2 separate regions of the Homo sapiens genome follow, and region 2 is linked to region 1. Evidence: promoter capture Hi-C in human tissues and cell types (Jung and others, 2019). All regions are on one chromosome and are shown on one strand. The core of a region is centred on a gene start or on the middle of the fragment in contact, and the rest is flanking DNA. Distances in the headings are between cores, read along the strand shown.

What was found. The method cuts DNA at HindIII sites, captures the fragments that hold promoters and counts their contacts. A contact is called where the count stands out against the background at its distance.
Region 2: a fragment that was not itself captured here is called in contact with the fragment with the promoter of GFRA1 in region 1 in 4 of the 25 tissues and cell types used here (aorta, hippocampus, mesenchymal stem cells and 1 more).

The regions. Positions count from the first base shown.
Region 1 is chr10:116,271,620-116,274,632 of GRCh38, forward strand. GFRA1 (GDNF family receptor alpha 1) reads right to left here and starts at 1,587. Exons shown (of 11, transcript NM_005264.8): 1 at 1,544-1,587; 2 at 371-656. The coding sequence starts at 410. LOC107984273 (a long non-coding RNA gene) reads left to right here and starts at 2,390. Exons shown (of 2, transcript XR_001747598.2): 1 at 2,390-3,013. RefSeq lists an enhancer at 1,752-2,589 and a silencer at 1,798-2,092. The HindIII fragment of the contact is 12,805 bases long and covers 1-3,013 here.
Region 2 is chr10:115,721,621-115,724,633 of GRCh38, forward strand. The region is part of intron 26 of ATRNL1 (attractin like 1); the gene reads left to right. Among named protein-coding and RNA genes, the nearest start is that of SNORD158, 470 kb to the right of the region's middle. The HindIII fragment of the contact is 5,017 bases long and covers 1-3,013 here.

The sequences.
Region 1 (3,013 bases), core at 337-2,836:
TCTCTTCCAAGTTTGCTCTCCCGGCCCCAATGCTCCCCAACTCCACCTGCCCGCCGCGGCTCCGCGAGCTCCCAGAGACTCTCTGGGGGTGCAGGGCCCTGGGCTGGAGGGCTTCTTAGTCCCCCGCCAAGTTGGGTCATTAAAAACCACAGGAAATCAAAACCAAGCCCGAAAAGCTTCAGGCAGCGCCGCGCCGCCACCGCCTCCCTAACCCGGGGATTCGCGATCCCATTCCCCAAAAAGACACTTCTTCCTTCCACATCCACCACACCCGCGCCCCAATTTTGGTGCGGAGGGCGGGGTGGGCTGCTGCAAGCGACCCTAGGAAAGACTCAGAGGGTAAGAAAGCCCGCGGCGGGCCTCGACTTACCCAAGAGCGGCAGCGCGAAGTACAGGGTCGCCAGGAACATGGTGCCGGCGCGGGGCTGGTCCCCGCCCCCCCAAAAAAATCCCGAGCCGCCGCTGGGTCTTGCCGAGGGAGCTCAGCGTGCAGCGATCCCCGGACAGCTGTGCTGCTCTGGCCGCCCAAAGTTCAGCTCCATCCAGTGAAAGAGGAAACTCCGGGTCTGGCAGCAGCCACCGCCGCCGGCGACTCAGCTCCGGGATGGCGAGGGCGGGAGGCGGTTCCGCTTTTAGGGGTTCAGGTCCGACCCAACCTGGAAGGGAGGGCGCGCTTTGAGATGAGAGCGGAGAGCGCCGGAGACTCCCCCCACAGAACCCTCTCCCCTCCCCCGTTCCCGCCTTTGGGGAATTTCCAACACCGGGGTGAGGACCCACCCCCACCCAGGTCGGGGTGCATGTGCGTGTTTTCCAGGGGCCGCTGACACGGGGATGGAGGTGAGGGCTGGAGAGGTCTGAAGAGGGTTCCTAAAGTCCAAGGGGGTGTCTGTTGGGTTCAACCCGAGACGCTGAACGCAAGCAAATAAATAAATAAACGGTACTTTCCGAGCGTCGCGAGCGGAGCCTGCAGCTGCCTGGAGTCCGAGCCCTCGGTGGCGGCGGCGGCAGCTCCCTAGCCAGCCCTGGCGCCGAAAGAGCCCCTTCTCCCGGGAAGTTGGCCTCCCCCTCCTCGCGTCAGCCAGCGAGCTCGCTCAGCCGCCGGCCCTCCCCACTCCGATCGCCAATCCCTAGCCCCAGTCGCCGCCCTCCTTCTCCCCGGGACTCGTCTCCCTCCAGAGGCCGCCAAGCCAGGGGGAACCGATGTCCCGACTGGGGCTGAAACCCGGTTCCTGCGCCCCTACCCCCTACCCGCCGCGCGTCCTCGGCTCCCTCCTGGGCGTCCGCTCCTCTCACACTCTCGCCCGGTGCCCAGGACTCGGGCGCTTCCGCACCCCAGCCCAGGGCGAGCGCGCCGGCCCGCAGTCCCGGCGTGCCCCGGCAGGTGCAGCCCGGCGCCACGAGCGCCCCCCGGGCCCTAAAGTTGGGAGACGCCAGCAAAAAGAAAGGGGTGGCCGGAGGAGGGGGGAAGAAGGAGTGGGGAAGAGGGACGGGAAGCGGCAATGGGTTCCCAAACAGAACGAAAAAAACTCCAAATGCCACCAACCTGGACTCAACCGACCGCGTCCAGCTGCGGCGAGGAGCCAGTTTGTTTATTTACTTATTTATTCTTTCAGGGCAATGGTGTCCCCGCCCCCTCCTTCCCTTTCCGGGCTCACTTTATCTGCGCTAGGAAAAGAAAAAAAAGAAAAAAAAATAGATGCGGTAATCTTCGAGAGCTCGAAGGGCCGAGTTGGGCCAGGACGATTTCCGAGCAGAGCCCTCGGCTCGGATGCTCGTTAGGGATGTTAGTGGTTATTGGAAGCGGCGCGGAGAATGGCGTGTTCCGAGGCCAGATTTCTTCTGGCCAGAGGACCCTCGGCCTGCTCCTGTTCCCGCCGCTCCGCAGCTCCAGCTCCCTCCTAAGCTCGCCCGCCAGGCAGCCGCAGCTGCACACGCCCGCTTGCGGTGGGACCCGCGGCCGGACCCGTACTCGCGCACAGGACACGCAGTGTTCTGCAGCCGGCCGCGGGTGCTGCCAGACACACACACTCTCTCTCTCTCTCTCTCTCTCTGTCTCTCTCTCTCTCTCTCTCTCTCACACACACACACAGACACACACACACACATACACGGGCACAAGGGCTCTTTCTTCTTAGGGCAATCGAGCCAGACCCTTCTTCGGAACACAAAGTTTTCCCCCACGTCACTAGTGGCTGTGATTCAAGACTTGGTGCTTTCAAGACACACTCAGACCCAGGACGCTGGAGCGGCGATCCTGGGATGCGCCCATCCGTTCGTCCACGCCAGCGCGTGCACACTCACACTCACACGCACACATGCACACGCAGTCTCTACCTCTCTCCTGGAGCTCCGACAAGGAGACAAAAGCGGAGCCCCCAGCCCACTGCATTTAAACCCGGCCAGACCTGGCTTTAGAAAATTTATAAGCTGACCTCCATTTTGGCTGTTTCGAGAGTAAATTAACAACAACAAAAAAAGCCTAACATGTACACAGCCCTTCGCCCCAACCCCTGGGACCGCTGGTTCCCAGTCGTGCTGCTCACCCCCCGCCCCCCACGCCTGACACACGCTCCCCTTCCCGCACGCCGGGGGGCGCCCGGGGCACCGAAGTCTACACTGGGTCGGGAGACCGGTCTAGGAGCCAGCCGGCAGTGCTCGGGATCTTTGCTGATGTCCAAGTTCATCTCTCGGGGAGACCGAGTTTGAATCAAATCTGCGTGCGCCCAGCTGTCAAATCTGCAAACCTATCACGCCAGACAATGGGCCGCCGCGGAGGACAGACAAGAATGGCTCATTTTGATCGAGGGGGGTAAATTGAAAAGGGCACGGGCTTTGGTTGAAGTTTGAGGCCCGGGTGTCAGGGCGGGGAGAAGAAGAGGAGGAAGGAGGAGGGTTGGGCCGCTCTCCATTCAACCACACATCAGCCAGGCGCGCCCCTCGGCTGCAGCGGCTGCTTGCAGGCGGGCTGCATATTGTGTGGAGTCGCCAAAGAGGGTCTGCGCCTCGGGGCGCG
Region 2 (3,013 bases), core at 214-2,713, 550 kb before region 1:
TGAGAATAACACGGGAAAGACCAGCCCCCATGATTCAGTTCCTCCCACTCGGTCCCTCCCACAACACGAGAGATTTCTGGGAGATACAATTCAAGTTGAGATTTGGGTGGGGACACAGTCAAACCATATCACTTATATATGCTATTAACATTTTAGAGGATATTTTGAAATCTATATTTTAATCAAAGATCCAGAAACATTTTCCGTTTTTCCTTTGTCTTTCCTCTGTCTGGTAGCAGACCTGATGACAGTGAAAGGTAGGTTTAGGTTTTGGCACATTACTGCCCAAATAGCAACCCCAAATAACTGAACAACCTACCTGGAAAATCTGCTGTGGCTATTTGACAATATTTTGCTTTTGAATAATGAAGAAAAAATAACTAATCTTAAGGTTTTATGGAATCTCGCATTATTAAAGGCCTTCTGGACAGTCACTCAAGTTTACTTTGCAAGTTAATACAAATATTGCAAAAATACCATTTGACAAAGAAATTTCAAAAATCATTGGAAATGAATATTATCAGCCAACTCAGTGAATACTTGTCAGTGTTAGACAGGTAGAATTTTTTTTTTATTTTTAAGTTAACACATTATGTCAAACACAGCATATTGCCGGCAGGTCAAAGATTATAAAAGCCTAGAAAAAAAAATAACAACTGTAACCTGAATAAAGATGTTTTTCCAAACCACTCCCATAATGACTAACATCACTATCTAGGAAAATTAACCTCACACTGGAAGACTGAAAGCAGAAGATTTCCAATATTTTTCTGAACAAGAATTTGAACCTTGTGCCTTGAAGATTTAGTTATATAAAATGGTAGAAAACCATGCTTTCCTAATTTAATGATACTAAAAGTTCTTGCCACTTCTCTTCTTTACACCATCCTAACATCAAAAGAACAAAAAATGATTTTTTACTTGTATTACTGTATGCTAAGTATGTTTGTGTTAATAACAGAAAGCCTCTTATTTCATGAATTGTTGCATAATCTTTTCTTCAGAGGCTTTATTTTAGTTTGTAGCTCAAAACTAATGACAAAATCATTTTGAGTGCTCTTTTTATACCTTTCCAAATTGTTTTGAATATAATTGCTGTTAGAAATATTAATGCATTGTGATGACTTTATGGCAGTTTTTTTCTATGATCTTTGCAGTATTGCCATAAGCTAGATGATGAGGAACAATATGAAATCTGATATTGATTTGCAAGACAGGTCCACAAAACATCCCCATTCTAAAAAAATAAATGTCTACCTACTTTCAAGGAGAAGACATAAATTCTAGAACATCAAAGGACATATAAGAGTTTTAAAAGTTTATGCATAATTAGAGTCAGTTTTATCATAACTTGCCTTTACCCACATTTGGATGAAACAGATTCTTATACTATATTTTATTCACTCATTCATTGTTCATTCATAAAACACTGTTGACTATCAACTAAGTATTGTGGGGAATGAAAAACAAAAATAGGCTTTTGCCTTAAAGAAGATCCCAGAAAAGCATGGAGACATAAAGAGATGGTGCCATATTAATATCACAAATAATTCATAGAAGAGGTGATCATTTCAAAGTTGAGGTGAGGTAGAAGGACATTTGAAGGTGGAGGAGAGAATAGATAGGGAACCTATGCAAAAGAGTCATGTAGTAGGAGGTATGAAGACAATTGCAGGCAGAGTTAGTCACTGCTTTGTTTTTTATGTATGTGTATTTTTAAGGAGTATTATCCTAAAGTCATTCAAAGAGTTGTATGCCTTGTGGTGTTTGGAAAGGTAGCTAGTATCAAGTTTGGGGAATGATACCGTATTTGAAGTAATAGTATTAAGTTGAAGAATTATCTGTATTCATATTTGATAGAATCACTGACTCTACCTGGTTGTCAAATTTAAGCGTAGATATTCTTTTCTTTTGTATTTATTTATTTATTTATTTATTTATTTTTGAGACGGAGTTTCGCTCTTGTTACCCAGGCTGGAGTGCAATGACGCAATCTCAGCTCACTGCAACCTCCACCTCCCGGGTTCAAGTGATTCTCGTGTCTCAGCCTCCTGAGTAGCTGGGATTACAGGCATGTGCCACCATGCCTGGCTAATTTATTTTTATTTTTATTTTTTAGCAGAGACAGGATTTCACCATGTTGGTCAGGCTGGTCTTGAACTCCTGACCTCAGGTGATCCACCTGCCTCGGCCTCCCAAAGTGCTTACAGGCGTGAGCCGCTGAGCCTGGCCTGATTTTCATATCATTTTTAATTCCATGGTTTGTTTTATAAGAGATTTTGAATAGCAAAACAGTTATTATGTACAACAAATAAGATAGTAACATCTCTTTAATTTTTAAATTTTCTTCACAACAATGTTTATGGCAGTATGATTATAATCTATTGTATTATGATCAATTTGTTCTTTTGGCTTTATTGTTCTGCTGAATAATTGGCAATAGCAGATTAGTTATAAAACAGACACATCTGCTATATGGCTTCTTATGGGTATACAAAATGTTAAGCTTCATTTTATATAAAACACAATCCTGGAAAATCTATTAATTTTCAAATTTTCTTAAGAAAATACGATACAGTTTTTCCTAATTTTCAGGATGAGTTTTTATCATTCTTAGTCACAAATGGTGGAAGGCAGTTCCAAATCTAAATTCATTTTACCACAATAATGACAGTTTCCAACTGTCTCATAAATTTGCAAAACATTTGTTAAAAGGGAGACTAGTAGAGCAAAATGTGTCACTGTTGCTGAAGAAAATGGGCCTGTGGTAATTAGTGTGCCGTCTTCTGAGACAAAAATAGTGCTTGAAATTTAACATTATAATTGTACCAATTAGCAGTTATTGAGTGCTCACAATGTGCCAGCCTCTGTGTGGAACAGCCCAAGTGTGTTATCTCTTTAGTCTCAACCTTATGACTTAAAGATACTATTGCTATTCCCATTTTATGGAGAGAAAGAATGAGTGAAAGGTCTCAGTAATTAGATTATGATCCAATTGCTGGTAAGTTCAACA